7 separate regions of the Homo sapiens genome follow, and regions 1, 2, 3, 4, 5 and 6 are each linked to region 7. The links are contacts of gene promoters, found by promoter capture Hi-C in blood cells and fetal thymus (Javierre and others, 2016). All regions are on one chromosome and are shown on one strand. Each heading gives the region's core, a stretch centred on a gene start or on the middle of the fragment in contact. The rest is flanking DNA. Distances are from core to core; before and after follow the strand shown.

What was found. The method cuts DNA at HindIII sites, captures the fragments that hold promoters and counts their contacts. A CHiCAGO score of 5 or more calls a contact.
Region 1: a contact is called between a fragment that was not itself captured here and the fragment with the promoter of SNAI2 in region 7, in 1 of 17 cell types (M2 macrophages). The highest score is 5.2, in M2 macrophages.
Region 2: a fragment that was not itself captured here is called in contact with the fragment with the promoter of SNAI2 in region 7 in 5 of 17 cell types (M1 macrophages, M0 macrophages, endothelial precursors and 2 more); the score reaches 9.8 in M1 macrophages.
Region 3: a fragment that was not itself captured here is called in contact with the fragment with the promoter of SNAI2 in region 7 in 4 of 17 cell types (M0 macrophages, M1 macrophages, M2 macrophages and 1 more); the score reaches 11.0 in M0 macrophages.
Region 4: a contact is called between a fragment that was not itself captured here and the fragment with the promoter of SNAI2 in region 7, in 3 of 17 cell types (M1 macrophages, M0 macrophages and M2 macrophages). The highest score is 9.5, in M1 macrophages.
Region 5: a fragment that was not itself captured here is called in contact with the fragment with the promoter of SNAI2 in region 7 in 2 of 17 cell types (M1 macrophages and M0 macrophages); the score reaches 8.3 in M1 macrophages.
Region 6: a fragment that was not itself captured here is called in contact with the fragment with the promoter of SNAI2 in region 7 in 4 of 17 cell types (M2 macrophages, M1 macrophages, M0 macrophages and 1 more); the score reaches 10.7 in M2 macrophages.

What each region holds. Positions count from the first base shown.
Region 1 is chr8:48,485,498-48,488,648 of GRCh38, reverse strand. No RefSeq gene overlaps it. Among named protein-coding and RNA genes, the nearest start is that of LINC02947, 31 kb to the left of the region's middle. The HindIII fragment of the contact is 539 bases long and covers 1,208-1,746 here.
Region 2 is chr8:48,466,469-48,469,961 of GRCh38, reverse strand. The region is part of intron 3 of LOC105375821 (a long non-coding RNA gene); the gene reads right to left. Among named protein-coding and RNA genes, the nearest start is that of LINC02947, 50 kb to the left of the region's middle. The HindIII fragment of the contact is 2,850 bases long and covers 557-3,406 here.
Region 3 is chr8:48,450,322-48,453,652 of GRCh38, reverse strand. All of the region lies in intron 3 of LOC105375821 (a long non-coding RNA gene), which reads right to left. Among named protein-coding and RNA genes, the nearest start is that of LINC02947, 66 kb to the left of the region's middle. The HindIII fragment of the contact is 4,299 bases long and covers 1-3,331 here.
Region 4 is chr8:48,528,511-48,531,913 of GRCh38, reverse strand. No RefSeq gene overlaps it. Among named protein-coding and RNA genes, the nearest start is that of LINC02947, 12 kb to the right of the region's middle. RefSeq lists an enhancer at 1,295-1,858. The HindIII fragment of the contact is 7,462 bases long and covers 1-3,403 here.
Region 5 is chr8:48,508,148-48,511,407 of GRCh38, reverse strand. No RefSeq gene overlaps it. Among named protein-coding and RNA genes, the nearest start is that of LINC02947, 8.3 kb to the left of the region's middle. The HindIII fragment of the contact is 4,761 bases long and covers 1-3,260 here.
Region 6 is chr8:48,560,647-48,564,144 of GRCh38, reverse strand. The region is part of intron 2 of LOC101929268 (a long non-coding RNA gene); the gene reads right to left. Among named protein-coding and RNA genes, the nearest start is that of LINC02947, 44 kb to the right of the region's middle. The HindIII fragment of the contact is 6,044 bases long and covers 1-3,498 here.
Region 7 is chr8:48,919,614-48,922,832 of GRCh38, reverse strand. SNAI2 (snail family transcriptional repressor 2) reads left to right here and starts at 1,404. Exons shown (of 3, transcript NM_003068.5): 1 at 1,404-1,646; 2 at 2,392-2,937. The coding sequence starts at 1,568. It overlaps LOC107986942 (a long non-coding RNA gene), which reads right to left and starts at 1,276. Exons shown (of 4, transcript XR_001745895.3): 1 at 632-1,276; 2 at 69-143. RefSeq lists an enhancer at 1,214-1,293. The HindIII fragment of the contact is 2,868 bases long and covers 1-2,662 here.

The DNA of each region.
Region 1 (3,151 bases), core at 228-2,727, 430 kb after region 7:
TTAATTGTGATGTTAGGGTATCGATTTTAGATCTTTTCCTGCTTTCCTGCCTCTTGTGGGCATTTAGTGCTATAAATTTTCCTCTACACAATGCCTTAAATGTGTCCCAGAGATTCTGGTACATTGGTCTTTGTTCTCATTGGTTTCAAAGAAAATCTTTATTTCTGTCTTCATTTCGGTATTTACTCAGTAGTCATTCAGGAGCAGGTTGTTCAGTTTCCATGCAGTTGTGTGTTTTTGAGTGAATTTCTTAATCCTGAATTCTAATTTGATTGCACTGTGGTCTGAGAGACAGTTTGTTGTGATTTCTGTTCTTTTACATTTGCTGAGGAGTGCTTTACTTCCAATTATGTGGTCAATTTTAGAATAAGTGTGATGTGATGCTGAGAAGAATGTATATTCTGTTGATTTGGGGTGGAGAGTTCTGTAGATGTCTATTAGGTCTGCTTGGTGCAGAGCTGAGTTCAAGTCCTGGATATCTTTGTTAACCTTCTGTCTCATTGATCTGTCTATTATTGACAGTGAGGTGTTAAAGTCTCCCATTATTATTGCATGGGAGTCTAAGTCTTTTTGTAGGTCTCTAAGGACTTGCTTTATGAATCTGGGTGCTCCTGTATTGATTGGGTGCATATATATTTAGGATAGTTAGCTCTTCTTGTTGAATTGATCCCTTCACTATTATGTAATGGCCTTCTTTGTCTCTTTTGATATTTGTTGGTTTAAAGTCTATTTTATCAGAGACTAGGATTGCAATCCTTGCTTTTTTTTTTTTTTTTTTTTTGCCTTCCATTTGCTTGGTAGATCTTCCTCCATCCCTTTATTTTGGTCCTATTTGTGTCTCTGCATGTGAGATGAGTCTCCTAAATACAACACTCTGATGGGTCTTGACTCTTAATCCAATTTGCCACTCTGTGTCTTTTAATTGGGGCACTTGGCCCATTTACATTTAAGATTAATATTGTTATGTGTAAATTTGATCCTGTCATTATGATGTTAGTTGGTTATTTTGCCCATTAATTGATGCAGTTCCTTCATAGCATTGATGGTCTTCACAATTTGGTATGTTTTTGGAGTGGCTGGTACTAGTTGTGCCTTTCCACATTTAGTCCTTCCTTCAGGAGCTCTTGTGAGGCAGGCCTGGTGGTTACAAATCTCTCAGCATTCGCTTGTCTGTAAAGGATTTTATTTCTCCTTCACTTATGAAGCTTAGTTTGTCTGGATATGAAATTCTGGGTTGAAAATTCTTTTCTTTAAGAGTGTTGAATATTGGCCCCCACTCTCTTCTGGCTTGTAGGGTTTATACCAACAGATCTGCTGTTAGTCTGATGGGATTCCCTTTGTGGGTAACTCGACATTTCTCTCTGGCTGCCCTTAATGTTTTTTTCCTTCATTTCAACCTTGGTGAATCTAACAATTATGTGTCTTGGAGTTGCTCTTCTCAAGAAGTATCTTTGTTGTATTCACTGTATTTCCTAAATTTGAATATTGGCCTGCCTTGCTAGGTTGGGGAAGTTCTGCTGGATAATATCCTGAAGAGTGTTTTCCAACTTGGTTCCATTCTCCCTGTCACTTTCTGGTACACCAATCAAATGTAGATTTGGTCTTTTCACATAGTTCCACATTTCTTGGAGGCTTTGTTCGTTTCTTTTACTCTTTTTTCTCTAAACTTCTTTTCTCACTTTATTTCATTAATTTGATATTTAATCACTGATATCCTTCCACTTAGTCGAATTGGCTATTGAAGCTTGTGCATGCATCACAAAGTTCTCATGCCATGTTTTCAGCTCCATCAGGTCATTTAAGGTCTTCTCTACACTGTTTACTCTAGTTAGCCATTCGTCTAATCTTTTTCAATTATTTTAGCTTCCTTGAGATGGGATAGAACATGCTCCTTTAGCTCAGAGAAGTTTGTTATTACCAACCTTCTGAAGCCTACTTCAGTCAACTCGTCAAAGTCATTCTCTGTCCAGCTTTGTTCCGTTGCTGGCAAGGAGCTGTGATCCTTTGGAGGGGAAGAGGCACTCTGGTTCTTAGAATTTTCAGCTTTTCTGCTCTGGTTTATCCCATCTTTGTGGTTTTATCTACCTTTGGTCTTTGATGTTGGTGACCTACAGATGGGGTTTTGGTGTGGATGTCCTTTTTGTTCATGTTGATGCTATTCCTTTCTGTTTGTTAGTTTTCCTTCTAACAATCAGGTCCCTTAGCTGCAGGCCTTTTGGAGTTTGCTGGAGGTCCACTCCAGACGCTGTTTGCCTGGGTATCACCAGCGGAGGCTGCAGAAAAGCAAATATTGCTGCCTGATCCTTCCTCTGGAAGCTTCATCCCAGAGGGGTACCCACCTGTATGAGGTGTCTGTCGGCCCCTACTGGGAGGTGTCTCCCAGTTAGGCTACATGGGGGTCAGGGACCCACTTGAGGAGGCAGTCTGTCTGTTCTCAGAGCTCAAATGCCATGCTGGGAGAACCACTGCTCTCTTCAGAGCTGTCAGACAGGGACGTTTAATTCTGCAGAAATTTCTGCTGGCTTTTGCTCAGCTATGCCCTGCCCACAGAGTTGGAGTCTATCGAGGCAATAGGCCTTGCTGAGCTGTGGTGGGCTCTGCCCAGTTCTAGCTTCTTGGCTGCTTTGTTTACCTACTCAAGCCTCAGCAATGGTGAACACCCCTTCCCCCGCCAGGCTGCAGCCTCACAGGTCAATCTCAGACTGCTGCGCTAGCAGTGAGCAAGGCTCTGTGGGCATAGGACATGCTGAGCCAGGCATGGGAGAGAATCTCCTGGTCTGCTGGTTACAGGAAAAGCACAGTATTTGGGTGGGAGTGTCCTGTTTTTCCAGTTACGGTCTGTCATGGCTTGGAAAGAGAAATCCCCCAACCCCTTGTGCTTCCTGGGTGAGGCAACACCCCACCCAGCTTCAGCTTGCCCTCCATGGGCTGCACCCACTGTCCAACCAGTCCCAGTGAGATGAAATAGATACCCCAGTTGGAAATGCAGAAATCACTCGTCTTCTGCATCGATCATGCTGGGAGCTGCAGACCAGAGCTGTTCTTATCGGCCATCTTGGAAGGGAAAACTCACACACACACACAAAATTTAAATAGTCATTATAAATATGCTCAAAGAACTATAGAAAATCATGTATACATAATTGAAATA
Region 2 (3,493 bases), core at 732-3,231, 450 kb after region 7:
AGAAGAACCTCATTTTCACCGTGTGCCACCGAGCCTCTGTAATGACTCCTTGTTCTCCATGGATGGCCGGGACACCTGACCTGGCCTGGGGATTCTGTCGGCCCACACTGCCCACAGCCGCCGTGCCCAGCACTGTCCTCATGCCCCTCTGCGGCGACACGCAGCACTCAGTCCCACGGGCCCCTTGCTCACGCTCTCCCTTCTGCCTGGACGGTGCTCTCTCTGCCCTTTTCCACCTGATTGACGTCTACTTTTCCCGTACATTTCAGCTGAGATAAACCAGACCCTGAAGAGGCCTTGGTGACTTGCTAGGCAGGCCGGCACTGGTGGGCGCGTTGGCTCCACGCACCTGACCCTGGGCTATGCCACACGCCCACTAGTCCCAGGGACTGGGGACAGACAGTGTTTCTTATTCACTAGGAGGCACAGTGCCCGGCACACAACAGGAAGTCACAAGCAAATGAGCAAATGATTGCAGCATGAATAAATGAAGGTAATTGATTTCTTCCTGAGAACATACTTGGGTCTGGGCCCCACAGGAAGTGCTAGAAAAGCTTTCATCTGATGCTGGGTTATTTATGCCCAAAAAGGTTTTCTTGAGGGATCATGGAAAGACACAAGGTCATTGGATAAATACAGTACTACTTCCTAGAGGACCTGATCTACTGAATAATTAGCCGACATGACAGAAAACAATAGTATCACTGCAAAGAGGCCTTTATAAGATTTGACACAAAGGCCTCCAAGACGTATTTGACTTTGCACCTGGCTACCCAATTCACTTTGCTGCACATCCCCCAAGGGGGGCAGTCCGTCTGTCTACTGGGCTCCTTCTCTGGGAAAGTCTGGGAAACATTTCCAGGGGGAGAAGCTCTCATGCTGTCCCCCCTGAATACCTCACAGCAGCCCTTATGGTCAGCCTTTGAAGTGATGGTTTTTGATTCCTTACTTTTCCAAGTCAAAATCAGCACAGCCCTCAATGACTGGGGCTAGGAGCAGAGGTAGAGGAAGTTGGGAGGCGTTGGAGTAGGAGATTCAGGGAAGACAAGTTTACCATTTGAAATCATGTTGTGTATTGAGAAGGGCATGGACCTTAGAGACAGAACTTCCGGCTCTGCAACGGACACATGCAACCTTAGGTAAGGTAAGTCTCAGGTAAGTAAATTAAATCTGCATGGAAAACCCCATTTAGGGCTTGGCTTACAACTGAGCAGCAGGCAGTGAGAGCTGGTAAGGATTCTGTTCTCATGACAGTCATTTGGAAGGTTGGTGCCTTTACCTTGCACACTGGGGATTCAACTCAGTCCTGACCCACCACCTCAAGAAAACAATTTTCTTTCATTTCCTTAACACCTGATATGGTTTGACTGTGTCCCCACCCAAATCTCACCTTGAATTGTAGTTCCCATAATCCCCATGTATCATGGGAGGGACTAGGTGGAGATAATTGAATCATGGGGGCAGTTTCCCCCATCCTGTTCTCCCGATAGTGAGTTAGTTCTCATGAGATCTGATGGTTTTATAAGGGGCTTCCGCCTTCACTGGGCACTCATTCTCCTTCCTGCCACCAATGTGAAGAAGGATGTGTTTGCTTCCCCTTCTGCCATGATTGTAAGTTTCCTGAGGCCTGCCCATTCATGCTGAACTGTGAGTCAATTAAACCTCTTTCCTTTATAAATTACCCAGTCTTGAGTATGTCTTTATTACCAGCATTAGAACGGACTAATACCCAAATCTCTATTTCCTTTCTTGCATATTTAAGAGATGCTAGAAGTTAACTTCAAGTAGTTTGAAGCCTCTTCAGTTGCTTTGAGGCTGGACCCAGTGGGGGCCCTTCCACTCTCTGGCCTTGTGCACAGTCAGACTCTGCTCCCAGGAGCCAGAAGGAGCCAAGAGTCAGCTGGGCAGGTGGTATGGCTGGGGTGTGCCCAGGAGTTTGTGAGCAGGGGCCAGGCTGGGGCAGGGTGCCGCAATTCTGAAATGCTGCCCTGATCCAGTTTTGAGGCCCTGGCTAGAAGTCAGTCAGTTCCCCTTCTTGAGCAGATTCACTCCACATCCCCAGAGGCTGCCTTTGTTGGGCTCTCCCACTCTGGGCCACTGTCCACCTGCCCTCATCACCCCAGGACAGATACCAGACAGCCCAGCACAGCCCCACTGCTCCGGAGCCCTGACATTGTTCAATCCCACCAATCCGCAGCCTGCTTGCCTGGCCTCACCTGCTCCTTCATGCAGAAACTGCAACAAGGGAGCTTGCCCTGAGCTCACTCCCCTCATTCAGGGCCTCCTGACCCTATCCGAGCCTCCCCAAGGAGCCATGAGAATAACAAACTGTAAAATTCTTTCTGGTGTCATTCCTGACCTGCATCTGGCCTCACCACACTTCACCCAAGGTAATGTGCTTGTAACAGGCACAGCCCAGGCAATCAGACTGGCCTTGGGCATTCATTGGCACCAAGAGCATGTCCCCTCTTTGGCATTCCCTCACCCCCGCCCCCCAGCCACCAGGCCAGAGCCATGGGAAGGTCACCTCTTGGATGTTAGCCACCCTATTACTTTCTAGATAAAGAAACAATCTCGCTGCTTCCTCTGCTCTAATGTGACAGTTGCTGTCTGCCTCACCCAATGGGAAACAGTCATGAGCAGTGTAAGATGAGACATAACCAGGCCCACACATGTCTTTCCACAGGTCAGAATTTACAGAGGCTATTTTAATCATAAAAGCTACAAACTACCTGGAGTTCTCAAGGAGGCAATTCTTAGTATCACCTATGGAAACACAGGCTCAAGCCACTCCACAAGTCAGTCAATATTGCAAACCATACATAGTAGTATATTTAATCAATATATAAATGTTATAGATTAAACATTTCACATCAAACAAAGTAACGTTCAACATCAAGAGAAAAGGAGGTCAGAAAAGGAACTAATGAAGCAGTCCAAGGAGAGTGACGAGGAGAAGGGGAGTGTCCTGGGCTGATCCCAACGGACGCCAGTGTCTTGCAAGGAAGAGGCTTTGATGTGGGCAGAGGCTTCATCAGCAGATGCCAGGTGCTCATCACAAGTGACAGCAGGACAGGGTCTGCCAACACAGCAGTGTCTACCTGATGAAGTCTCACTCATTTTATGGCCACAGAGTCCTCTGGTGAAGACTGATAGTAAAGGGTCATGTCTTATCTGGTTAAGTGCGCATCTGCCCAGAGGGTCTTGTTAGCTAGTGAAGTTCTGCTCATTTTATGGCCCTTGAGTCATCTGGCAAGGACTGATAGTAAGCGTGTGCCTGTTCATGCCCTTGTCTAGTTAGGTGCAGTCTCTGTTGATTAGGGGAACATCTTTTCTCTATTGGCACGACGCCTTTTGAGATGTAAGATGGAGTAGTTTTCCAAGATAGAGTTACTTATGTCAAGCTTGCTGTTTACAGAAAGGCAGAGGTGTCCTTTCATTGTTCCCCACAGTCATCTAAATGCGGAGGTCTTCCTCCCTGAGGCAAACTCCC
Region 3 (3,331 bases), core at 626-3,125, 470 kb after region 7:
TCAGTGTCTACCTAAAACTCTCCCAGCAAACAGTTCCCATTTTTCTCCCTCCCTCCTGACTTGGTGTCACTGAGAATTCAAGGCTGATGGCCAGATCCCCTAGAACTCCAGGCTGCCTCATAGTGGCCCTTGCCTAGGATGGCAGAAGCTCTGTGAGCTGAAGCCTTTGGACTTGATCCAAACCTCCCAGAGCTGCACCCCCCACCCCCCCCACCCCTGCCCACAGCAGACCCTGCATGGGCTGGATTCCCCTGGACAGGTCAGAAGAAGGTTGAGCAGAATGCTCAGGTCATGCACACCCTTGTACAAGAGATAACCATACCTGTGCACAGCATCACAAGAACACCAGCAGCCTGGCTCGGGAACTGCAGAAACTCAGGGAATGGGGCTGCCTAGTGGCTTGGAACCCACTGAGAAAGGACAAGAGCCTGGGGTGTTAAAGCAGTTAAACAGGGAGTCGTCCAGAGTCTCCTGGGATTCACAAGAGAGAGGAGCCAGGTCTTCCAAGCCACTGAGCCAGGCTAGAGGAGGGTCTCATCCCGGAATATGGGAGGGCAGGGGGTCCTGTGGGACTGTCCATTTCTCTCTTAGATCACAAAACGGTAGAAGAGGATGAGGATATCTTATTTATTTATAATATATTTAGGGGTACAAGTGCAGGTTTCTTACATACATTCATTGCAAAGTGGTGAAGTCTGGGCCTTCAATGGAACCATCACCCAGATAGTGTACATTGTACCCAGTAGGTGGTATTTCATCCCTCACCCATCCTTCCACTCTCCAACCCTTCTGAGTCTCCAAGGTCTATTCTTCCACTTTGTAGGTTCATGGGTATGCATTTCTAGGTCACATTTGTGAGAACATGCAATATTTGACTTTATTCTTCTGAGTTATTTCACTGAGGATAATGGCCTCTAGTTCCATCCGTGTTACTGCAAAAGACATGGTTTCATTCTTTTTTATGGCTGCATAGTATTCCATGGTGTGTGTGTGTGTGTGTGTGTGTGTGTGTGTGTGTGTGTGTGTATGTGTATGTATATGTATATCTCACATTTTTTTTTGGATCCTGTCTCCTGTTGATGGTGTTGGTGGACATTTAGGTTGATTCCAGATCTTCGCTATTGTAAATAGTGCTGCAATAAACATACAAGCTCAGGTGTCTTATGTAATGACTTACTTTGAGGGTAGAGGAGGATTTCTTGACCTTCAATTGTTGTATTTCAGGACAAGGTAAAGTTCAACCTTGTCATTCTCCCCTCTTATTCAAGAGGAATGAAGATCATCATTGGTGAACAATATTCACCAAGGTTAATCATCATCTTCCTGAGTGAGGTGAAGTGGGTCTGAGAAACACTCTACCAGGACTTTTGCTGGTGGTATTCCTGTGAATCGGTTCAACCACCTGTTGAGAGGGGGTGGCACAGTCCAGAGTGTTAATACATTGAAGGCCAGTCTTATTGAAAGAGAAATGCCTAAAATGATGAAGAGAAATGTGAGTGTAAATGTCACATTAAAGGGAAGAGTGAGTGTTGATCCCTGGGAATGATGAATCTCACTGAGCCCTCACTGATGAAACTTCTCCCCTACTGCAACAGCCTAAATAAATCATCTCCTTAATTGTCCAGCATATTCTGTCTTTCACAACAAGATTGAGAGTCTTAAATTTACATAATGTAACAAAAATATTAGAAATAACGTCACGAAGTGTTCCATCTTAAACCTTCTATGTAGTATTTTTTTAAACCTTGTGTGGTATTTTAATGAAAATATCTGTAATCTTCTGATAAAAATACTACACAAGATGGTGAAAGATTTGTCAACCAGTAAAGAACTCCTGTCTTGGCCTAGGAAGGTGTAACTGTGTAGACACAGTTCATAAACCTAGTAGTGGGCATTCAGCTCATTTTAGTTCAATCTAAGACCTTTTATCAGAGCTGTATTTTATTATTGCACAGGCACCTACCCCCCCCACCCCGCCCCACCTCCCACACACACACAAGGCCTAGAGGACTTTACACAAATGAGGCAATCCAGTATCGTGGTTTGATTGCTGTAATGATGGACAGATAACATTTCTTGATGAGCTGTCTCCCAGATTCTCCCAGCGTAACCAGGGTTTAGTCGCTTGTGGTTTGGACACACAGTCTCTGGAAGCCCATCTCCTCATTTTTAGTCAGATCCAAAATGTAAAGGGTCCAGCCCATCCTCATCCCCTGGGTGTGCCCTTGAAATGCGACTGGTGTGAACCGGGACGTGCTCTGTGTGTGAAATGCACACCAGATTTCAAAGACTTAGTATGAAAAGAAAAATGCAAAGTATCTCCTTAATAATTTCACATGGTTAATATTGATAGGTTAATATTCTGGATATGTTGGGATAACAATAATATCCCATTAAAATTAAAATTAATTTCACTTGCTCCTTTCTTCCTTTTTAAAAATGCAGCTACCAAAAAATTTAATGTTAAATCTGAAGCTCACATTCTATTTCCGTCAGACAGCACTGAGTCTAAACTCAATTTCTGTGAGTACTAATAAATGCAGAGTGACCTTCATGGGGCCTGCTTCACAAAGGTCACACACCCTAAGGCATCTGTTCTCTCGCCTCTTGTCACATGGAGTCCCCCGAAGTCAGCCTCTCAAGTAGCAGGGCCCCTGAGCACCAATTTCAAAAATGGACTGGGTAGGAATTCCCCACCCCAGGCAATCCCCCAGCCCCCACCTGCTGACAGAGATGTCAGCCAAGTGTCAGAACTGTGACCAGGACACAGATTCCTGCACTCCCACAGCTCCTCAGGCCCATAACAGGCTGGCTCCAGGACCGTAGGGGCCCATAGCTCAGGCAGCCCCCACATCCCTAGGCTGCCAGGTCTTGGTTTCACACCTTCCCCCTCATCCAGACACAGTCCTCTTTCCTCTCTTCCCTTGGAAAGTCTCCTAATTTTGAGCCACTAGCCGTTCATCTGAGGCACCCTGGGGGGCTCCTGCTGCCCGTGTTGAATTGTACCTGCATTCCACATAAATGACTGCAGCTGGCTCTGGCCAGACTTCCCTAGAAGAGGAGAGCAGGAAGGCCTTGCTGGGGAGCATTCGGGGTCCCTGGGGCCAGCAGGGCATTCAGCAGCAGTTGTGTAGGGTGACGGCGCACCTGCCAGGCACCCTGGGAGCAAGCTGCCCTTCACCTGATGCCCTCTCCCTGCAGGAGCTACAGCACCTGTTACACAAGAGTGCAGGTTCCCCTTCTGTATGTGAAAAGGGAAATCTAGTCTTCTCTTAGGGGTTGGCTTCTTCCCAGGTGTCTTCTCCAGATAGATCATTCAAGCATCTGTTCC
Region 4 (3,403 bases), core at 820-3,319, 390 kb after region 7:
TACCCAATTTTTAAAAAATATGCAAAAGGCCAGGCGCGGTGGCTTACACCTGTAATCCCAGCACTTTGGGAGGCCAAGGTGGGCGGATAATGAGGTCAGGAGTTCAAGACCACCCTGGCCAACATAGTGAAACCCTGTCTCTACTAAAACGTACAAAAATTAGCCGTGTGTGGTGGTGGGCACCTGTAGTCCCAGATACTTGGGAGGCTGAGGCATGAGAATCACTTGGACCTGGGAGGCGAAAGTTGCAGTGAGCTGAGACTGTGCCATTGCACTACAGAGTGAGACTCCATCTCAAAAAAATAAAAATAAAAATAAAAATGTGCAAAAGACTTATCATTTCCCCAGAGGATATACAGATGGTAAATAAGCCCACCGAAAAGATGTTCAACATAATTCATTAGGAAAATACAAATTAAAACCACGGTAAAGTAACACTACGCACAAATTAGAATGACTGAAACAAAAACTGCTGACAATACTGAGTGCAGGGGAGGATGGGGGAAAACTGGGTCTTTCATACATCGCTGGTAGAGTGTAAAAGGGCACAGCCACCCTGAAAAAGTTGGGCAGTTCTTACAAATGTAAAAATATACTCCTCAGTGTTTACAGCAGGAGTTGGAAAACTTCTTAAAGTGTCAGATGGTAAATGTTTTAGACTCAAGGTCTTTGTCACAGAAAGTCAACTCCCCGGTTGTAGAATGCAGCCACACAAAGATACATGAACAAGTGGGCATGGCTATATTTCAGCAAAACTTCACAAAACAAGTGGAACTTGTTTTTGCTTTGTTTCATTTTGTTGTTTTTTATGGTTTGTGCAAACTTCAAATCGTTTTAACATTTTTAAGTGGTTATAAAAGTTCCTGCATAGTAGCCTCGATTTTGAGTTGTTTTGTGACCTGAAAAGCCTATAATATGTATTATCTGACCATTAAAAAAAAAAGATTTCCATCCCTGCTCTAGAGAAATGGAAACTTATGTTCACCAAAAATTTTGTAAATGGATATTCATAGCAGCTCTAGTAATAATCATGAAAAACAGAAAACAATATAAATGTCCTTTAACCAATGAATAAACAAACTATGACACATCTATACAATGAAATACTAGTCAGCAGCAACAAGGAACAAACCACTGATATCCTCAATCACATGGGTGAATCAGAAGATGCCAATATCCAAAGTTAATTCCTCCATTTTATGATATTTCAAACCATGTCTGTATGCTGCTAGGCAAATAATATTTATTGTAAGTTTCAATCTATCAAGTACAATATCTCATTATTTTAAAGATGCTCTGAATCCAGTGTGGGGACAGATTTGTATAGTCTCTAATTGTAAGACTGGAACTCAAAATGAACTAGGCTCAGAATCAACTCTGGCATCCCTGAATTTTGTTACCTTATACAATTAATTTATTTGAATCTCTGTTTCCTAAAATGAAAATAATAATAGCTTGAAGAAGAAGAAGGAGGAGGAGGAAGAGGAGGAGAAGCCACCGCCAATATCAAGAGGTTTCTACCTGTATGACCCTATTTACATGACTGAGCAGACTGATGGCTTTGGGGTGGCATGGGGGAGGGTGTGATCGCCCCAGGGCAGCTCAGGGCCTCCAGGTGCTGCAGCTACCCTGTGTCTTGCCTGTAATGAGACAAATCTACACGTGTGTTAAGGCTCATGGGTGGTGCACACATGCAGAAGAACTTGGCTCTACTGGATGTTAACTTAAAATTCAAAATTCAAGATGTGTTTGTAACACTGTCGGCGTGTACCTCTTCAATATTCATGCATTCCAATGCCTGCCTTTGTTAAAAGCCACAGAATGCAGCAGGAAGGGAGACAGGCTGACAGACACCATTAAGAACCTTGAAGAGCTTCTGCAAAGAAAGAACCATGATGTCAAAGACGAGCTTGCATGAAGGAGTAAGACATGGGGGAAAACAGTCAGACTTTAGTATTTTTTGCCCTGCTGCTAGGAAGCACCTCGCTGAAAAGTTATCATGTATGGCAGTGACGATGCTAAAAGTTCAACAAGGCACCAAGGAATGACAACTCAGACAGGTGAAGTCACTTGTTTTTTATGAATTCTAGAAAAGGGGACTTTTAAGTGTCACCACTCAGCATCTACTTGAGTCCTGTCAACAGCAGGCATTGCACTTTAGGTGCCTGTACTCCTTAGAGACGTAGAGGAAGAACAAAGACAAAACATTAACATTTACAATTCCACAGTCAAGCAGATGATAAACTGAATGCCTGCGAGGGAGGACCCCACCAAGAGCAAGCCATGGGAACATCTTAAACACAGCCTGGTGGACAGCAGTGGGTGGCTCACAGAGCTGGGTTCAACTAGAGCCTAGAGAGGTTAAACAGAAGAGCATCTGGAGAAGCAGAGTCCTGCAAAGTGTTTGAAAATGAACGAGGACAGAGACTAGTTAGTGACTGTCAGAAGGGGCCAGGAGGTGAATGGGGAAACTGGGCTTTCCAAAGTGTCACAGAACACAGCTCTGAAGGTGCAGAGGCAGAGAATGAGCACGCCATAGGAGGGGCACAGGCAGTGAGTCTGGGCCTGTGTGGGACGAGCAAAGAGAGAACAAAAGCACAAGTGGCCATGCCAAGCACATGAGGAACAGTGTCCCCAGCTCACACAGCTCACCCTGTGATCAGACAGAGATCACCACCCTCTGAACTTGCAACCCCAGGGTGAGTGGACAGTGACATCCACTCGCTCTGTGTACAATGACTGTACTATACCTGTACTAACTGGAGTTCTCCAGAGAAGGATAACCAATAGGAGGTATATATGCATAGAGGGAGAGAGAGCAATTTATTTTAAAGATTGACCCATGCAATTATGGAAGCTGGCAAGTCCAAAATCTACAGGGTGGGCTGGCAAGCTGGAGACCCCAAGAAGGCTGATGTTGCAGCTGAAGCCTAATGGCCATTAGATTGGAGAACTAGGAAAAGGCTTATGTTGCAGTCCCATTCTGAAGGCTGTAAGTTCCTTTAGGGAAGGCTGGAAGAAAGATGGAGTGTAAGTTTTTGGCTGCATACCAGGGTCCTTGTTCAAGGAGACCCAACCTCCCCTTCATTCAATGGGTTTGAGTCTGTAAACTGGCTCAAGTCTGGGAATTGATTGAGGGGGCATGACTCTCTTTTCATGGTTCAAGTTAGACTTTAGTTTGCTTGATCCAGAATTTAACTGCTTATACAGCTCGAGTAAGAATTTAGTAGGTTTCCTGTGTGTTTCACTGCTGAGAATACCATGATCCACCAGCCGATGCCCCGGGCTGGCATGAGTCAGGCTCTTCTGATTGCAGCTTGGATTCTGCCATCCTTTACAGGGTCCACATCCATGCAGTGATGCTACTTGGCCCCTGCCACTTAAGGATTTAATACTCCCACTG
Region 5 (3,260 bases), core at 290-2,789, 410 kb after region 7:
CACCATGGCTTGATGCAGCAAGAAGGCCCTCACCAGAGGCTGGCACCTTGATATTGGACTTCACAGCCTCTAGAACTGAGGAAATAAAGTTATGTTCTTTATAAATTACCAAGCCTGTAGTATCCTGTTACAGCAGGACAAAATAGACTAAGATAGTCTTTCAGATCTCATTTCTTCATACATAGAGATTTTTAAGAAGTGCTTATTCCAAGGGTTTTCCTATGAGATTTTAATGAGATAATGCATGTAATGGTACTTTGTGGAGGGCCAGGAAATCAGTAAATCAGCTTTTTTCACAAGCCCACCTCTATTTAAAAACAGAACACTATTTAACTAAAATGAAATGAAGTAAGTACCTTTGCCCAAAAGTCCTTGTTAGTTTATTTGAAAAGGAGCTCTATTTCAGATTATTTTTCAGTTAGCTTTTTGAGAACTGATCAGCTTACACTAAAAGTTCAGCCATTACAGGAAACCTGGGAAATGAAGGAATTCGCATGCTAAAAATAAAAAGAGTTTCAGCCAGTGTTAACCTGAATAGGTATTATGTTATTTCACTTGGGTCTTTTCCTCCAACATGAGTTCAAACAAAAATAACCAAATATGTTTAAAAGCTCTTGCTGCCCAGTGACCCTGCTCTGCGAAGGCCCCATGGTTCTGGTGCTGCAGTATGGGAGGCAGAGGCATTTGCCCTGCAGGACCCTTCCTATACCTCTCCTGACTAATCAGTTATTACCTAGGGTCAGCATCGGGTAAGAGTGGGGAGGAAACAGACAGGGGACGTCTGAAGGAATTCTTCAGTAGCTGAGTTGGGTGGGTTTTCCCCCTGTTTAACAAAGGTGAAGAATGGCAGTACCCTGAGTTATGTAGGGCTTCAAGACTCCACTTCATATATGGAGATTTTCCTCTCCTCCCAGGAAAGATCCCTCCCCTTAAGAAAAAGACTGTGCTCCCCAGGAGAGCAGAAGCCCAGGCCTGTCCTCAATGAAGCAGCCTGGGATAGTGGCCTCCGGCCCACAAACCCCATCAGGGACTTGAGCAATAGTTGTGTGAGCAAAATAAACTGTGAAATTAAAGTTACCTGTTTCTGGCAGAAACCTGACTTATGGGGGATCTTTATAGATCTGGGAATAGTAAGAGAGAGTGGTGAAAAATCAATAGCACCCAGAGTGATAATCCACACTGATTTAATTTACTCAAAAAGTATTTCACTCATCTCTTTCTGCCCATGTAAACCCATGCCTAATCTCTAAGTGGTCTGGTATTTATGATAAAAGACACAAGAATACTCATCTAATTGAAGAAGAGCTCTTTGAAACTGGCCTGCTTATTCTGGTGTGAGATACCGCTCAGAAAATATAGGAAGATAGAGTGAACGAGCAAACAGATCTCCAGCTGGCTGTCAGCCAACATGTTGCCTATTCCCTAGCATGTGTATGTAATCTATTAGCCTGTAAATTCCTCAAGTACATGGGCCATGACTTCCATTTCCTTTGTACCCCTCCCCTGCACATAGTACAATAGCCTGCATGAAATTCATAGTCAGTAAACATTGTCAGTTGTTCAATGTTTAAACCTGTTTTTACAAGCCACGTCTCCCTCAAAAAAACCAAAACCATATATATTATTTTAATACATAAGATCAGATATACCACATTTATTTGGTTAATTCTCTCCTGCTACCAGCACACTTTTTAACAGATTTTTACAGTGTAGATAGAGCGCTCCACCTTCGCCAAGTACGGGCAGACATTAAGGTCTCCATCACTACAGGACCTGTCACCTAGAGTGAGCCTATGGCTCCCCTCTCTAGAATCTCCCCTTCAACAAGTCTCAAAGGCTTTCCCGCAACAATTATGTGTGAGTAGGCAGTGATTAAAATCCCTTCCGTTTATGTTCCAGCCATGGAGGACCCACTGCTTTGCTTTCTTTTGCTACATCTCCTATCAGTCTCTGCTGCAGTTATCAACTGCGTTGTATGGAGACATTATGTAGGGAAAAGCGTTTACGTCTGTATATGTACATGTGTGCACATACATGCACACACATACACGCACAATATATGATATTTGCCTGCCCAGGCGCAGTGGCTTACACCTGTAATTCCAGCACTTTGGGAGGCCAAGGTGGGCAGATTGCTTGAGTCCAGGAGTTTGAGACCAGCCCGGGCAACATGGCAAAACCCTGTCTCATTTCTTAAAAATTTTTCAATTAAAAAAAATGTATATATAGATATATCTCCACCAAAAATCAGCTGCAATTGACCAGGAAGAAAAATTCAGAAATATGTGAAGATAGATATTATTTGCAGAGAATCAGAACATTCATTTATTATACAGTCTATCATTGTCATTTTAAGTAAAAATATTACTTGTGTCTTTTAGGGGTTTTCTATTTTTTCACAGCTTCACTGCAACTCTCAGCCTTCTTTGTACCATCGTGTGACTATGTCTGGCCAATGGAATGTGGGTTAAATGAGACACACAGTTTTTAGCACTGGCTGGCAAAGCTCCCTGTGTGATCCTCCACTCCTTCTCTCTGCTCCTGTCACCTGTGCTTCTCCTGTCATTTCACAGGAGCCCAGGGAGGATGTGGAGGCCCTAGACCACTGGCTCTCAGGGGCAATTTTGCCCCCAAGGGACACTGGCAATGTCTGGAGATATTTTGGTTGTCACAACTGGGCAGGGTGTTATTGGCAACTGGTAGGTAGAGACCAGGGATGCTGCTGACCATCTTACAGTGCAGAGGAAAGTGCCCACAACAACTATTTACCCAGCCCAAAATGTTGATAGTGTTGAGATTGAGAAACCTGGCTGTAGACAATGGCCGACATTGCAGGTGGAGAGAGGCTGGATCTCTGAGTGACTCTGTGGAGCAAGCACTGCCCATCCCTCCATCCTGCATATCCACTTAATTGTCTCCACCCTCCTTTATCATCTCCAAGTCTAGATGCAAACTGTGAGAAATAAACCACTGCATTAAAACCCTGAGATTTTAGAGTTATTTGTTAAGACAAGTGCCTTACTCTAATAGACTACAAAACACAAGCCATATAAAGCAAAACTTAGAGACATGCCTTGTAATAGATCACAGGAAAATATGAGGAAAATGTTTTGTTTTGTTTTACTTGCTTTTGATGCTATATCATAATAGTAACTGAAGTCCTGGTGCTTTCCATTAAGGAAGGAATCTTCCAGGCCCCCTTGCTGGGCAACTCTTTTGCGATTAAAAACAAACAGGTCCATCAGGGCATCTGGCACAAA
Region 6 (3,498 bases), core at 113-2,612, 360 kb after region 7:
TGGATCTCCAGAGGTCACGAGTTCGAGACCAGCCTGGCCAACATGGTGAAACCCCATGTCTGCTGGAAATACAAAAATTAGCCAGGTGTGGTGGTGCACGCCTGTAATCCCAGTTACTCAGGAGGCTGAGGCATGTGAATTGCTTGAATATGGGAGGCAGAGGTTGCAGTGAGCCGACTGAGATTGCGCCACTGCACTCCAGCCTGGGTGACAGAGTGAGACTCTGTCTTAAAAAAGTGATAATAATAAAATAAAAAATTAAAATAAAATATGATTTAAATAGGGCTCAGAGACTTCTAACATAATAGACAAAATGTTCAGCATACAACTGAAAATCTCCTGTCATATCAAGAACTAGGAGATTCACAACTTGAATTTAAAAAGCCAATAAACTGATGTCAACAGTGATATTAATACAAATTTGGAATTATCTGACAAGAATGTAAAAGCAATAGCCATGGAAATGCTTCAACAATCAATTTAAAATGTTATTGAAACAAATGAAAAAGTAAATCTCAAGAAAGTTATAAAAAGGAACCGAATGGAGGCCGGGCGCAGTGGCTCATGCCTGTAATCCCAGTGCTTTAGGAGGCCGAGGTGGGCAGGTCACAAGGTCAGGAGTGTGAGACCAGCCTGGTCAATATGGTGAAACCCCATCTCTACTAAAAATACAAAAATTAGCCAGGAGTGGTGGTGGGTGCCTGTAATCCCAGCTACTGGGGAGGCTGAAGCAGAAGAATTGCTTGAACCTGGGAGGTGGAGGTTGCAGTGAGCCAAGATCACTCCACTGCACTCTAGCCTGGGCAACAGAGTGAGACTCCATCTCAAAAAAAAAAAATTGCCCAATGGCTCAACAGTAGAGCAGAGATGAAGAGCATTCCTTCAGTGAACATTAAGGCAGAACAATAGAATTCACTCCATATGAACAGCAGAGAGAAAGTAGATATTTTTAAAAAATTAAAACATTCTCCCTCACTGACCTCTGAGACAGAAGAGCCAACATTCAAATCGCTGGAGTCTCAAAATGAAAAGGAAGGGGGTGGGGAATTAAAGAGTGTTTAAAGAAATAATAACTAAAAACTTCACAAATCTGTCAAGAACATATCAATCTATAGATCCAAAAAGCTGAACAAACCCTAAACAATATTTTTTCAGTGCTGAGAGAAAAGAATAGTCAGCCATGGATTCTATATCCAGCTAAGCTCACCTTCAGGAGGGAAGGGGAAATGAAAACATTCTCAGATGCAGAAAACTAAATAATTTGTCATGAGCAGGTCAATCCTTAAATATTATATAAATGAAGTACTTCAAACAGAAAGAAAATGATAAAAAATTTTTGAGAATCAGGAAAGTAAAAGAAATGACAAAGAGTACACATGGGTGCATACACTAGACTACCCTTTTCCTGGTGAGTTTTATAAGTTATATTTATAATTGAATCAAAAATAATATCTTCTGATTCATAACAAAATGATGGTTAAAGGGGAAAGATAAAAAGACCTAAAGAGAAGTGAGATTTCCACACACAGCTGAAAATGGTAAAATATTGATACCAATCAACTTTTGTAAGTCATATATGTATATTGTAAAACCCAGAGCAACCATGACAAAAACTATACAAAGGGACACATTAAAACACTAAAAATAAATCAGGTTGGAATTTTAAAACAACATTCAAGTAATCCTGAGAAAAGGAAGAAACACAGAAGATCAAGCACCTGAGAAAACAAATAATAAAATACCACTTTTAAGTACTAACATACCAATAATCACCTTAAATGTGCATTGTCTAAATCAAAAGGTAGACATTATCAGAATGCATAAACATGACCCAATTATATGCTGCTTACAAAAAACTCTTACACAAGGCAGGTCAAAAGGAAAATGATGAAAACAGATAAGCTATATAAACATAAAAATTTTTGAAGACCAGTAGTAGTTATATTAATATCTCATAAAGTAGACTTCAGAGCAAAGAAAATTCCTAGAAACAAGAAAGAAGAGTCTATATGGATATAAAGATAATTCACCAGAAAGAAATATTTATCTTAATTGTGTATGCAATAAACAACATAACCTCAAAATACATGAAGTACCAACAGATGAAACTGAAAGAAGAAATATACAAATAGAAAATTATAGTTGATTGTTTTGACAGCCCCTTACCTCACCAATGGATAGTGCTACAAGACAGAAATTCATCAAAGATATACAGGACTGAACAATAAAGTCAACCAATAGGATCTAACCGACATACATAGAACAAGCTACATAACGACAATACAATACAAATATTTCTCAAGTGTACATGGTACATTTACCAAGACAGTTCATATGTTTGGGCAATAAAACAAACATCAACAAATGTGAAAGAATTAAAGTGATACAGAATATCTTTTCTGACCACAATGGAATCAAACTAGAAACCAGTAACAAAGACAACAGGAAAACCTCCAAACAAATTTCTAAATAATGTATGGGCTATAAAGGAAGCCTTAAAGGGATATTTTTTAAAAAGCATATAACAGAATGAAAACAAAAAACTTAATATATCAAAAGATGTTGGATGTAATTAAAGCAGCAATAAGAAGGAAATTTATAACACTAAATGTTTACATTAGAAATAAGAAAAGGTTTCTATTCTTTCCTGAAGAAACTAGAGAAAAAAGAATGAAAAACAATCTAGAGGAGCCAGAAAGAAGAAAATAACATAGAGCAGAAATCAATAAAATTGAAAATAGGAAAACAATGGGTAAGATCAATGCAACAAAAAACTAGTTATATGAAAAAAGTTAATAAAATTGATAAGCCCATAGTAAGACTGACAAAAATAAAGAGTGAAAACACAAATCACAACTACTAAGAATGAAATGAAAGTCTGGACATGGTGGCTTACACCTTTAATCCTAGCACTTTGGGAGGCTGAGGCAGGCAGATTGCTTGAGCCTGGGATTACAAGATTGCCAGCCTGGGCAACATGGCAAATCCCCATCTCTAGATAAACTACAAAAAATAACTAGGCATGGTGGCTTGAGCCTGTAGTCTCAGCAGCTCAGGAGGCTGAAGCAGCAGGATTGCTTGAGCCCAGGAGGTCGAGGCTGCAGTGAGCTGAGATGGCACCACTACACTCCAGCCTGGGTGACAGAGTAAGACCCTGTCCCCTCTCCCTCCAAAAAAAAAATAATAATAATAATAATAATAATAAGATAAAAGATACCACTTCAGAACTTCAGATGCTGCAGTCATTAAAAAGATAACAAGGGAATACTGTGAACAAATTTACACTTATAAATTCTCCAACTTAAAAGAAATGAACCAATTCCTTGAAAGCCACAAAGTACCAAAACTCAACCAGGACAAAATAGACAATCCAAGTAGTCCTATAACCAATAAAGACATTGGTCAAAATTTAGCTTATAATTAAAAAGCTGCCCAAAACAGCAATCTCCAGGACAGATGGTTTTACTAGATAAAAGAATTCTACCAAACATTTAAAGA
Region 7 (3,219 bases), core at 155-2,654:
CCCCACCTCACCCTCCAAACACACATACACTCTTGTTTTCTCATTCCAAGATTAAGAAGTTATGCAACCTGACAATGCACTTTTCTCTGACAAGTCTTGACATCACCACTGTTATTTTCTTTTTCACTTTTTTCCTCCAGCACCTGTTAGAAACAAGAGTAGGGTGATCTTCATGTGAATTTGTTCTTTCCTTATTCTTTTAGCAAAAGATAGGGATAAAAGTCTGCAATGGACAGAGATGCTTTAAAATATGCTTGAAATTTTATATTTAAAATAAACCACCTGAAAGTATTTTTAGATTGAAGACCATACACAAAATAAAGGTGTTTTTGCAGTTACTAGACTGGGTTCTTAAAACTTTAATCAATCTATATTCATAATAATATCCTTCAATTTCTTTTTTAGCATTATACAGGAAACTGGTAGATACTGAGATGGATTTTAATGGCTTTATACTGATGAAAATAGCACCACATAAAAGCAGGGGAATATTAGAAATAAAAATAATTGTCTCTAAAGACCCATACAACCCTTTTTCCCATAAAAAAAAAGATGCACTGTAATACATGAAAAGATAAGATCTCTTGTCAAAAGTGTGAGAGAATGTCCGGTGGTTCCAAATGACAGTTACCTCTTGCCCCCCTTCTCTGCCAGAGTTCCTTTTTATCTTTGCAATCTTCCAGTTCTTCCGATCAGCCTGCCTTTAGAGGGCTACAAAGCATTTCTTTCAAGCCACCATAGCTAACACGGTGACATGAGTACTTAATTTGCACGCGGCCGCGCTGCCCCTGGCTTCGCGGAAGCCCTGAGTAGCGCAGCGCCCTCGCCGCACGCAAGGCTGCAGTCCCGCTCCAGGCCAGAGTCCCAGGAGAGCGTCCTCCGCGCTCACAGGCGCCTTTGTCTTCCCGCTTCCCCCTTCCTTTTTCAAAAGCCAAGAGGTAATTATTTGGTCTTTGTGCAAGGCAAACCTCTCCAGATGCCACTTCCAAATATAGGCTCTCATTAACACCAGAGGCTGGCCTGGTGTGGTGCAGGGCGGCCCTTCCTTCTCCTGGCGGACACTGTGTCCCCGCGCGCTGGCGCTGCACCACATCTGGAAGCCAGGCGGGCAGGGCAGAGACCCCGGCTCCTGCGCCCCTCCTAGCTCCCAGAGAGCGTGGATCGCGGGCGGGGCTCACCGAGCGAGGTTACCTCTCTTGAAAATACTTAAACACTTTTTTTCCTCTCCACTGAAATCTCAAAAAACAGCCCATTTTGAACCAGAATAATTTAGTCTGACAACAGATTCTTCCTCTGTTCACAGCTGTCCCAGAGGGAGGAGCTGAAATCTGAACCTCTCAGCTGTGATTGGATCTTTCTTGCAAAAGAGAGGAAAAAAAAACCCTCCCAGCCAAAACGGGCTCAGTTCGTAAAGGAGCCGGGTGACTTCAGAGGCGCCGGCCCGTCCGTCTGCCGCACCTGAGCACGGCCCCTGCCCGAGCCTGGCCCGCCGCGATGCTGTAGGGACCGCCGTGTCCTCCCGCCGGACCGTTATCCGCGCCGGGCGCCCGCCAGACCCGCTGGCAAGATGCCGCGCTCCTTCCTGGTCAAGAAGCATTTCAACGCCTCCAAAAAGCCAAACTACAGCGAACTGGACACACATACAGGTAAAAAGAGAAAAATATATCTAGAACTACGTATCTAGAGCTTTGCAAATATGAATCTACGTATTACCCTTCAAATACCATTACAAAAGAGCCAAAGATTCAACTGTTTTCCTTTTTAACAGTGTCCTGAAAGGGAGCTTACATTCTTTTGATCATTTAGGGTTCGTTTTAATTCAAAACTTTTAAAATTCTTGACTAACAAGGAACATTTCATTCAAATCTCGCAGCTTCGTTTGCTAAAGCCTGTGTATACATGCATAATGAGTATGTGAAAGATGAGCAACATAAGGATTGAATTACTGCGTTTTTCATGCACTAAGTCTCCTTTCCTTTAGAAGGCGGCTTGATGCAGGCATATCTTTGTACTCACGGTCGTAATACACCTAAATAGCCCATACGTAACATGGAAAACAACTTTTCTGTATGTTTAAAAATAATGTTGAGGCTCTCCTTCCTCAATGGGGACGGCGAAGGCACTGGCTTGGCTGCACTGTCTGACTTCAGAGCACCTATAGCTCCGTGCAGCTGTCAGCCTATGTGTGCATTAAGTACAGTAACTCCGTAGGTGCCAGGGTGGAAATGAAACATTTTACCAGTGTGTATGCCCTCCTAAATGGGTCTATCTTCTTCCTAAGAAAATCACGTGTGTGTTGCTAAATATCTTTCCAGTGTGTGTATACTTGCGTGTGGATTTATTTTTAATTATTTTTGCCTTAATCTTCTCTCCCTCCCTTTTCTTTCCCAGTGATTATTTCCCCGTATCTCTATGAGAGTTACTCCATGCCTGTCATACCACAACCAGAGATCCTCAGCTCAGGAGCATACAGCCCCATCACTGTGTGGACTACCGCTGCTCCATTCCACGCCCAGCTACCCAATGGCCTCTCTCCTCTTTCCGGATACTCCTCATCTTTGGGGCGAGTGAGTCCCCCTCCTCCATCTGACACCTCCTCCAAGGACCACAGTGGCTCAGAAAGCCCCATTAGTGATGAAGAGGAAAGACTACAGTCCAAGCTTTCAGACCCCCATGCCATTGAAGCTGAAAAGTTTCAGTGCAATTTATGCAATAAGACCTATTCAACTTTTTCTGGGCTGGCCAAACATAAGCAGCTGCACTGCGATGCCCAGTCTAGAAAATCTTTCAGCTGTAAATACTGTGACAAGGAATATGTGAGCCTGGGCGCCCTGAAGATGCATATTCGGACCCACACATTACCTTGTGTTTGCAAGATCTGCGGCAAGGCGTTTTCCAGACCCTGGTTGCTTCAAGGACACATTAGAACTCACACGGGTAAGAGAAAAACCATAGGCAGGAATGTTACTCTGAGATACAATGAAGCCCTGGGCTGGCTGTTGGATTTGCATGAAGTTGTGACATAGTGCTTTTAATGATGGACAGTCATTGATAGCTACTTCCTGACTACTCAAAAAGTTGTTAGGGCACAAAGTGCTCCATTTCTTGCTAACAACCTCTGCTCCAGGGACTGCAAACAGCATGTAGACTTTGGAAAGTAGATTCAGAAGGTTTGGTCTCAAAGATCAGTTAGAAAATCAGGAAAGATGTGCTTGAATG